Linked DNA regions of Homo sapiens: regions 1 and 2 are each linked to region 3. Evidence: promoter capture Hi-C in human tissues and cell types (Jung and others, 2019). All regions are on one chromosome and are shown on one strand. Each heading gives the region's core, a stretch centred on a gene start or on the middle of the fragment in contact. The rest is flanking DNA. Distances are from core to core; before and after follow the strand shown. Region 1 holds the start of HOMER1 (homer scaffold protein 1). Region 2 overlaps ZBED3-AS1 (ZBED3 antisense RNA 1). Region 3 holds the start of AP3B1 (adaptor related protein complex 3 subunit beta 1).

Region 1 (3,101 bases), core at 527-3,026, 1.2 Mb after region 3:
CACTCATTAAAATCGTTCCTTTGTGCAACTGATTATCTAAAAGTACTGAGAGAATGCAGTACTTCTCTTTGAAAGATAACCGTCAGCAAAAGCTAAAATAATGTGATTTTGATTACAAACTGATGCAGCAGTCTGACCAGTAAAGTGTAGAATGCGTTGTCTTTGTAAACATTACTCACAAATCCATATTCAAGTTACAAACGATATATGTGTTTTTAAATTATGACCTCTGGTACCGCTCTACAAAAATGCAAAAATAACCTAAAAGGTTAGCATGCCTATTTCTTTAAAGTATGACCAGCTTAGCAAGGTGGCAAGTTTGTTTGAAAACACAAAACACAATCACCACCACCGCTCAATAATACACATACATAAACAGATTCGAAGCTGTGTTAAGCACAAAAATCCTTACCCCATTTTGCCCAATGAAAACTTGCTCTGAAGTTTCAGCTCTTATGCTACGGAATAACTTCCAAAGGAATTTCTCCGTCTGCTATTTCGCAGTTGCTTTTCCACCCCCACCCCCAGATCCTTGTCCGGAGGTATTTCAAGGATGCTGCCAATTCAATTAGTTCTCTTAGGTAAAATGATTTCTCTCTTGTAAATACCAAAACGTTCAAACAGAGGCGGCATTTGCTTATTCGAGTTAAAATGCTTTGCGGAGGAGACAGCGATCAACTCTATTCCACAAAATGAGTCTACAAGTAGGGAAATGCAGAATCCGGCTTCACCGAGTCCTATAAAAAATGAGTTCGCTGGTCATTTCACTCATGTCCTCCTCGACACTCAGGGAGAGCCAGGTAACTCGGCCTTTTCGGAGCTAAGGCTGCGGGTTCAAATTTCTCCACCACACCAGGTCTCCGGGGGTGGAGCGAGCAACCAAACGCGACGTGCACGTGAATAAAAATCCCAAAAGCAGTAATGCCACGGCTTCCCTGCGCTCACATTAGGAAAAAAACTACACAGGAAAATCTCCTCGAAGTGCAAACCCGGCAGCTCGCAACCTGCACGGCACTCCACATTGGAATCTGTCTTTTTAAATGTTTCTCCTCCTAAGACTCGGAGCAGAGAAGAGGTGGGGAGGACGAAGAGAAGGCTAGGCAGGATCGATTCATTCTCCCGAAGAGAATAAACGGAGCCATTTCCAGGCTGGCAGCAGGCTGGGGGCGCAGCGCACGCCGGAGAGCTGGAGGAGGGGACCCGATCCCACCTCCCTCAGCCCCTTCCCGCCCCCCGCCGCCGAGCACAATGGAGCCCGGCTGGTGCCCGGCCCTTCATTCGCGGCTGCCCCCTCTTCCCTCCTCTCTTCAGAGCACAGCGGGTCTGAGGCTCCCGTCGGCGGAGAATGAATGAATCACAGAGCCAAGCCCCACGCTTCCACTGGCACCCTGCCCCCAGCTCCAGGGCGGGCGAAAGGGGCCGAAGGGTCGACGGGCGCCTGCCCGAGCCAAGGCGGGAGGCTAAGCCCGCGTTGGGGCCAGGAGAGCTGGGCTCGAAGCCGAAGCGCAGCCGCCGCTCCAGCGCCCCCACCCCTACTCCTCGTCTCTCACGCTCCGCGCCGCCGCCACGCGCCGCCTCACATTCCCCGGGCCCCGCCGCCGCCTCTTCACACTTCCATCAGCGCCCGCCTCCGGCTACCGCCGGGCAGAGCAGCGCCAGCCCCGGCGGCCTGAAGCCTGCCGCTGCCTCCGCCTCCGCCGGCCGGCCGGCTGGCAGAGAAGAGGGTGCTGCTTTCCCGGTCAGCGCCGCCGGCGTGAAGCTAGCGCGGCGGCAGAGTGGGCTGCGGGGGGCGGGAAGGGGGCGGAGAGAACGGGGAGCGAGGGCGGTCCCTCCCTCTGCTCGCGGGAAGGGACGGGAGGCGGTGGCCGCCGCGGAGCCGCGGCCGGGGGCTGGGGCGCGGACTGGTCCCGGGAGCCCGACGGGCCTTGCGAGCAGCGGGCCGCGGGAGAAAGCAGCAGCCGCAAGGCGGCGGAGAGGCTGATGGTGGGGGGCCGAGCGGCCCTCGTGGGGAGCTGGGCCGGCGGCAGGCCCTCAGTCCGTTCGTCCTTCTTTTCCCCCCTCCCCTAGAGGCTGGCGGCTGGCTGGCCGTGCGCTCTGCTCCTCCTCTGGCTCTTGGCCCCGCTCCCGACCGCCACAGCCTCCTCCGCGCCCCACACCAGGTGCTCGCGCTGTGTCTCCATCCTCCCCGCAGGAGGACCTTTAAATAGCAACGTCAGCGCGCTTCTCTCCGCACACACGTCACCCGCAGCTCACGTCACCGAGGTGCGGGGGATGATGTCACGCGGCCGGAAGTACTGCTAAATTAGGGAAGGAGCAGGGGGAGGAGGACTCGGCGAGCTCCTGTGTGCCCACCTGCTCTCACTTCTCCTTAAAGGCCAAAGCACAGGAGACAGCCCGAGAGGAGCTCGAACAAGGAAGCGGCGGGAGGAGGAGATTTCCTTGCAACAAATGTGCCAAACCTGAGTGAATCATTCGTAGCAAAAGTGCAGTGTCAAGCGGGTAATAGCCTATCTCCCACTCCCACCGCTATTGCAGCAGCACCCCCGGGCTTCTCTTGTCCTGACTAGCAGGGAAATGTGGGAGGGAGAGCCTGATCACACTGCTGGTAGATGTGCTTCCAACAGGACTTCGGAAAAATCACCTAAATTTTCAATTATAGAGTGCCATTCTGGACATAGTCGACTTTTAAACTTTTTGTTAGTGGTTACCTGAAACACGAAAGAATAAAGAGCAGAGCAATAAGCAAACGAAATAATGTTATAAAGGATAGTAATTTTATTTGCAAAATAGCAGTTTTGACATAGGAAAATGAGTCAATCTTAGTTCACGTATAGCAAATGCCAGTGTGTCCTCTCAGTTTCTCTTCATCAAGAATATGAGTTCCATGACACTTGGCTCCAGCCAGTAAAACAAGAAAGAGAAAAAGTATATGGGTTTCAGTCTGTGGAATTTAAATTAAAATTTAAAAATTAAAAATAAGAAAGAGCACCAAATCCTTTTTCATTAACACAAGCATATTTTCGTCTTCTTTAGTTTTGACCACATAATATGTAATTACAATATCTCTTAAGTGTGTTTTGCATTTTCTGTATGGCAAGGGT
Region 2 (3,094 bases), core at 336-2,835, 1.2 Mb before region 3:
TGTGTTTTGTAATCATCAAACACGGTGCATAATTATTTTGATGCCTACAACTAAGCAAAAATATTTGTACCTAGAACAAAGCAAAAATATTTATTCAATAAATGATAAAATAGATGAAATTTGCTCTCACCAAAGTAGTATACAAGCTAATTGTATTACATTTCCCTAGGCCTGAAAAAATTTATCAGAGTAATATATGTACATATTTTTACACAACAGTCCAATATTGATAAAAGATTTGCAACCAAATAGAACAAGCCCATGTCCCACCCCTCATATTTTCTAATTCCACTTTCCAGACTCAATACATTTCCTCCATATTGCTAACTAATATGTGCTATATTGTTTTTCCTGATTTATCAACCTTGAATATTGTCTGGTGACTCTCTATTATGGCATTATTCACTTTCTTCTTCCCATTCTCTCAATATAGTTATAGGACAGTTCTTCTTATAATATGAAATATTGTTTATGGCTGAACAAAATAGTGGGCTATGATTTTACGTCCTTCTACATACCTCTAAATAATTGTGTTATTTTTCATTTGCTTAGTTTTCCATTTTACCTATACTTGGGTTTTCCCACTGTCTACAATAGCATTTTATGTATCTTTCCACTCAGTCAAATTCCCCACGCTGCAGAGAGCCATGGAGCCCTCCATCCCTCTGCTCCAGACTAGTCTTGCTGTCTTCTGTGCAACAATATGGAACTTCATGTGCTATCATGCTGGAAATTTCCATCATCTCTCTCCTAAACTGGATTTCCTATGTTTTCTATCTTCCTCTGTTTTGGTTGCGTCTTTTTGGTGGTTCTTATTCTCTAGTAGCTTCTAAGGAAAGGTCTATGGGAGGTACATTAACTGAGACTCTACATGTGCATATCTCAAAATATCTTTATTCTAGCCTTATAATTAACTGATAGTTTAGACGGATATGGAATTCTAGGTTTAAAACAATTTCACTCAGAATTTGGAAGGCATTTCATTGTCTTCTAGCTTCTGATATTGCTCTAGAGAAGTTCTGCCATTCTCATTCACAATCCTTTGTATCTGATGACTTTTCCTCTTTGGAGATGACCTATGATTCCACAATAACATGTGGTAGGTTAGATTATTATTCAAAATATTCACTTTTCTCCCTCACCCTGACTTACTTTGGCTAGTGGGATATTAGCAAGTATGTTGCAAGTAGGGGCTTGAAAAACACTTGTGTGGTTGGGCTTGTTTTCTTAGGCTTATGCCATCAGAAGCACAGAACAAACAGGCTGATGACTAGCCCACTGGTTCTAGAAGGAGGATGAGTAACACATGGAGCAAAGCCAAACCCTCCTGGCCAAGCTCAGCCTGAATCAGCAGAGCTGCACAGTGGAGCCCAGCTTGGATCTGCCAACACTCAGCTGATTCATAGATCAATGACAATAAACGACTGTTATTTTAAGCCACTGAATTTTTGGATGTTTGTCATATAACATTTTGTGGCAATAGCTTTTGGTATCAGAAATTAGTATCTAATTGGTATTAGAAATTGATATTTGTAGTGAGGTATAGGCACAAGAAAACAAAAAAATAAGTGGCATTGGTTTGGAGGCTGGATGATGGGCACAAGAAAACTGTTATAGGAGGCTGGAAAGAAAATGGTAATCTGTGTTTTGCAGGGATGAGACATTTTCTAAAACTGTCACCTTTGGTAACTTGGAAGTTAGCATATGTACCTAAAAATATTTGGATTTGTGCTGAGAAGTCTTCATGCACAATGATAAAAGTGTGAGCTAGTTGTATTTAGCTGCATATAATAGGTACTAGAGATGAGTTCAGAAAAGAACCAGCCAGGTTTCAAGGAACATGTAGGTGGAATGCAGGGAGCCCAAGAATTCTGGGACTTGCTGAGTTGGAAAATAAACTTTTGCATCTCCAATATAGTTGGCAAGTCAGCTATATTGGGCCTTCTGTCCTGGAAGGTTCCACAGTTCATCCTCACAGGGTTAGATACCTCTCCTGGCTTTAGATTTGCCTTTCCTTGCCACAGAGCTTCAGCAAGCCCCACTACCTGGGGCCGATCTGTAGTCATGGAAGCACACACAGCATAATATTGACCAGAGGATCACTTCATCGCAAAGGAGGCTTGGGAATAGGACAATGACCATGGGATCCACTGGTCATATCAGATACTGTATCACCTAGATGGAGCCAGCCTCATAAAGCATTGGAATGGTTACTAAAGGCACAGCTGGAGCTCCAGCTGGAGGCAATGCTCTGAAAGAACAGGGTACCATCCTGCAGGATGCACTGTATACATTAAACTGGGGTTCTCCATGTGGTGCTATGTCCTCAACAGGAAGAATACATGGGTCTGAGAACCAAGAAGTGGAAGCAGGAGTGGACCCACTTATCATTTCCAATGACCTCCTGGGGAACTTTGTGCTTCTTGTCTCTACAACTCTGGGCTCTATGAGATTAGAGGTTTTGGTCCTCAAATGAGGTGCAGCTTGGCAGGAGACACAGCAAGTGTCCCATTGAACTATATACTATGGCTGCCACCAGGGCATTTTGGACTCTTTCTATGAAGAGACCAGCAGGTGAAAAGAAGAAATCATTGACTTCCATCAGCAGAAAGAGGTGAGGCTGCCTGTACACAATGGGACAGGGAGGAAGGAATGTGTATGGATCCCAGGTGATCCCTGTGGTCAAGTTTTTCTGTAGTCTTGCCCAATCTGTGATGTGACTGCCAACAGCTAAGACCTTCTGGAATAAAGATAATGAAGATAATAAAGAGGGGGAGGGGAATTTAGATTGGATAGTGCAGGTAGGAGAAGATGACTATGGGTTGCGATCTCAAGACAACTGGCGGCACTAGGGGCTATAGTTCCTCCCATTAACTTCTCTCTTCTAAGTATTTCCTCAAGAAGAGGGCCCACAGGAGCCATGGGGAACTGGATCTATGGAGGAAAAGAAATGGACTGTGGCAGTCCTGGAGGTACACTGCTTAGATGTCCCTTTAAGATAGTCGGCCATGGAAAGCATAGCTGAGTGACAGCTACGTAGAGGCCATACTTCCCTTCGACTGCTCCCAGCTGATCACTGAATAAGATGAGGACA
Region 3 (2,983 bases), core at 370-2,869:
ATGTTGGCCAGGCTGGTCTCGAACTCCTGGCCTCAAGCGATCCGCCCACCTCACCCTCCCAAAGTGCTGGGATTACAGGCGTGAGCCGCAGTGCCTGGCCCCAAATCTGACAAAAATCTAAGAGAAAACATCGTAGATGTTCACAAACCATAAAAGTAAATTAATTTGCGAAACAGATTGATGCCGATATACAGGTTAATTCAGTCTAAACATTTTGCTAATAGTAGAGGCAACAAGCTCCGTACTTGTTCTAGAACAATGGATCATCAAATGCATATAATGAAAAATGAAATCAGTTACCTTACTTTTAAACTTTTCTAACCTTGGGAAAAAGGAAAAGATTGTATCTTACATGCTATATATATGATTTTGATCCTCAATACAGCCAAAATGTAATCCCAATTTGAAGTAGTAGCACTTTCTAGACTACCCAATATTGTTAGTAACGTTTAATTTAAATTTTAATTATACCCTCTAACAGATCTGCAAAGCTACTAGCACAGCTATTCTACCTTAATTTAGCATGAATTTAGTGACAGACTATTATGTGACCCTATTGCTTAGTAATGAAAGATTTAAAATAAGAGAAATGTAAAAATGATAATTCTGGTAAATGTAACCACTACCACCAACCCACCCCCCAAAACAAACAACTTGGGATTTCTTTCCATTTCTCGGTGATACTTTTTACAAAACTAAGTGTACCTTGTTTAACATTCGTTTTTAAAATTCACATTATTAATCTGTAAAAGTTTTGGATTTGTTCACAGTAACACTCTTTTAAAATATTTTCTATTCATATGCTTATTTTGGATTGGTGTTTTTGTCTGTAGTGCAAAGGACATAATCCAAGAACATTAATACTGGTGTAAACCAGTTTGTCCATTCAAACAGCCTAAATCCACCTCTCTGCTCCTACACTCCGGGGTCACAAAATAACTTCCCACAAGCAACACTCGCACTCTCACCTTCACCAAAACACTCCTTTCACCCTAATCAGGGAATGTATTAAAGTCTGATCCGGCGAACGGTAAATAAACTAGAAGACGATGCTCAAAATTCAGACTCCTGAGCCCAGCCCAAGTCCAATTCAATCAGTGTCTTCAGGGGTGGGATCTAAGCTCACCAAGTGGTTTCCTTTTCACTAAAGTTTGAAAACTACTAGAGACCCCTACACACATTCGCCCCAAACTCCCACAACTCCCACCACCGCCAACCAACCCCACCTACCCACCCGCGGGACACGTTACCGCCCTGCCCTGCTCAGACCTCAGGGCGACCCCGCTCCTCTCCAGGAAGCCCACCCTGGCGCCCACTCCTCCGAGTCCGCAGCTCCTCCCTCCCATCCCCGCAACCCAAACCTTTCTCCTCACTTCTTCAAATCGCTGCTAAAGAGGCCGAAGGCCCCCGAGGGGGAAATGGTTGAGGTCGCCTCCTGACCCAGCTCCGTCGCCTCCCCTCCTCCGGACTGCTCATTGTAAGGAAAACTATTGCTGGACATTGCCGCGGTGCTGGCGGGTGCGGGGTTGGTCCTGCCGGGGGTTCTCTCCAAAAGGTTCCAGTCCAGAGGGCACGGAACAAAACTAGTTCTCGTACGGAGGAGCGCGCGCAGGCGCTTCCGGACTCGTCACGGCTCCCTGAGCCGACCTGGCAGTCCACCCCCTGCGCATGCGCAGTGTGCAGGCCTGCTAGATTACCACCCGGGCCATCCAGGCCTGCGCGGACTTTCCTGCTCCGGGCTTTAGAGGTAGCTGAGCGGCTGCGAGCCGGACTGCGGAAGGGGAGGCAGCGGGTGGCTAACTGCCCGGCTCCCGGCCCGTTTGAGGTGTGTCTTTGGAGAAGGATACCCATTGCATCCGTTTTGATCCGTTAAGGAGTTTCCAGAGCCCGGACAGCTCTTTGCTATACTTCAGTAAAGCAATAGTTTTCAGATTTCTCCGGAAATGCCATTTAGCACGCCAGATCACCTTTCCTAAACCCATCACGATCGCTTTTCCTTTTCTTGCTTGTTTCGGCTACTCTCTTCCATCCGGCTTTGCCTTACTTTCATATCGGTCCCAAACAACTTTTCTCCTAGACTTTAAGGAGGCCTCTCCCAACGATGGTTTGGAGGATCCGCACAGAAGCGACCATTCCATCTTTTCAATGAAAGTCTTGGGGGCAGACCGGGCGCGGTGGCTCACGCCAGTAATTCCAGCACTTTGGGAGGCCGAGGCGGGTGGATCACTTGAGGCCAGGAGTTCGAGACCAGCCTAGGCAACATAGCGAGACCCTTTCTCTGCAAAAAATATAAAAATTAGCCGGCGTGGTGGCGCGTGTCTGTGGTCCCAGCTACTGAGGCTGAGGTGGGAGGATCACTCGAACCCAGAAGGAGGGGGTAGCGATGAGTTGAGATCTCTCCACTGCATTCCAGCCTGGGCGACAGAGCGAGACCCTGTCTCAAAAAAATGAAAAAGAAAAGAAAACATCTTGGGGCCACCAGTTCCCGTTTGGAGCTGAAGTGGTGCGTCCTATTGGCGTCTAGCTACCAAAAATAAAATGGACCACCTCGCGCGCCAGTCGTGTTACTCACTAATATGCACTAGGGAGCCTAGGCGGGATGCTTGCCTGGCCCCAGAGTAGCTCTCTCCGGGTGCTGGCACCCGAGAAAACCTCTTTCCCGGGGTGCCTTCCCCCAGCCCGCCTTCTCAGGTGGGTTTCAGCGCCTTCCCTCTCTTCTCCCCAGTGCCTCCCGTCCAAGGAAGGCATTAACACCCAAAGCCCTGGCGGCCAGGTACTGAAACTGTCAAGGGATTCTACCAGGTAGAACGCGAACCTGGAGGCCGGCCGCCCCAGGGAAGGCGGTGGGGCGTTTTCAAGGATGAGAGTATGATCTCCAAATTTCAAAAGGTCACACTGTCACTGTGGAAGCACGCAAGAGCGTGGCTCTGGGTGGGAGAGGAAGGGACGTCCTCCAAACTTGATCGTCTGGTCAAATATTGGC

What was found. The method cuts DNA at HindIII sites, captures the fragments that hold promoters and counts their contacts. A contact is called where the count stands out against the background at its distance.
Region 1: a contact is called between the fragment with the promoter of HOMER1 here and the fragment with the promoter of AP3B1 in region 3, in 1 of the 25 tissues and cell types used here (aorta).
Region 2: a contact is called between a fragment that was not itself captured here and the fragment with the promoter of AP3B1 in region 3, in 1 of the 25 tissues and cell types used here (hippocampus).

What each region holds. Positions count from the first base shown.
Region 1 is chr5:79,512,358-79,515,458 of GRCh38, forward strand. It overlaps HOMER1 (homer scaffold protein 1), which reads right to left and starts at 1,777. Exons shown (of 9, transcript NM_004272.5): 1 at 413-1,777. The coding sequence starts at 417. RefSeq lists a silencer at 1,350-2,059 and enhancers at 2,054-2,601, 2,310-2,499. The HindIII fragment of the contact is 12,079 bases long and covers 1-3,101 here.
Region 2 is chr5:77,131,972-77,135,065 of GRCh38, forward strand. All of the region lies in intron 2 of ZBED3-AS1 (ZBED3 antisense RNA 1), which reads left to right. It also overlaps a transcript of PDE8B not described here. Among named protein-coding and RNA genes, the nearest start is that of ZBED3, 46 kb to the left of the region's middle. The HindIII fragment of the contact is 4,061 bases long and covers 1-3,094 here.
Region 3 is chr5:78,293,079-78,296,061 of GRCh38, forward strand. It overlaps AP3B1 (adaptor related protein complex 3 subunit beta 1), which reads right to left and starts at 1,620. Exons shown (of 27, transcript NM_003664.5): 1 at 1,374-1,620. The coding sequence starts at 1,501. RefSeq lists enhancers at 1,883-2,456, 2,831-2,880. The HindIII fragment of the contact is 13,991 bases long and covers 1-2,983 here.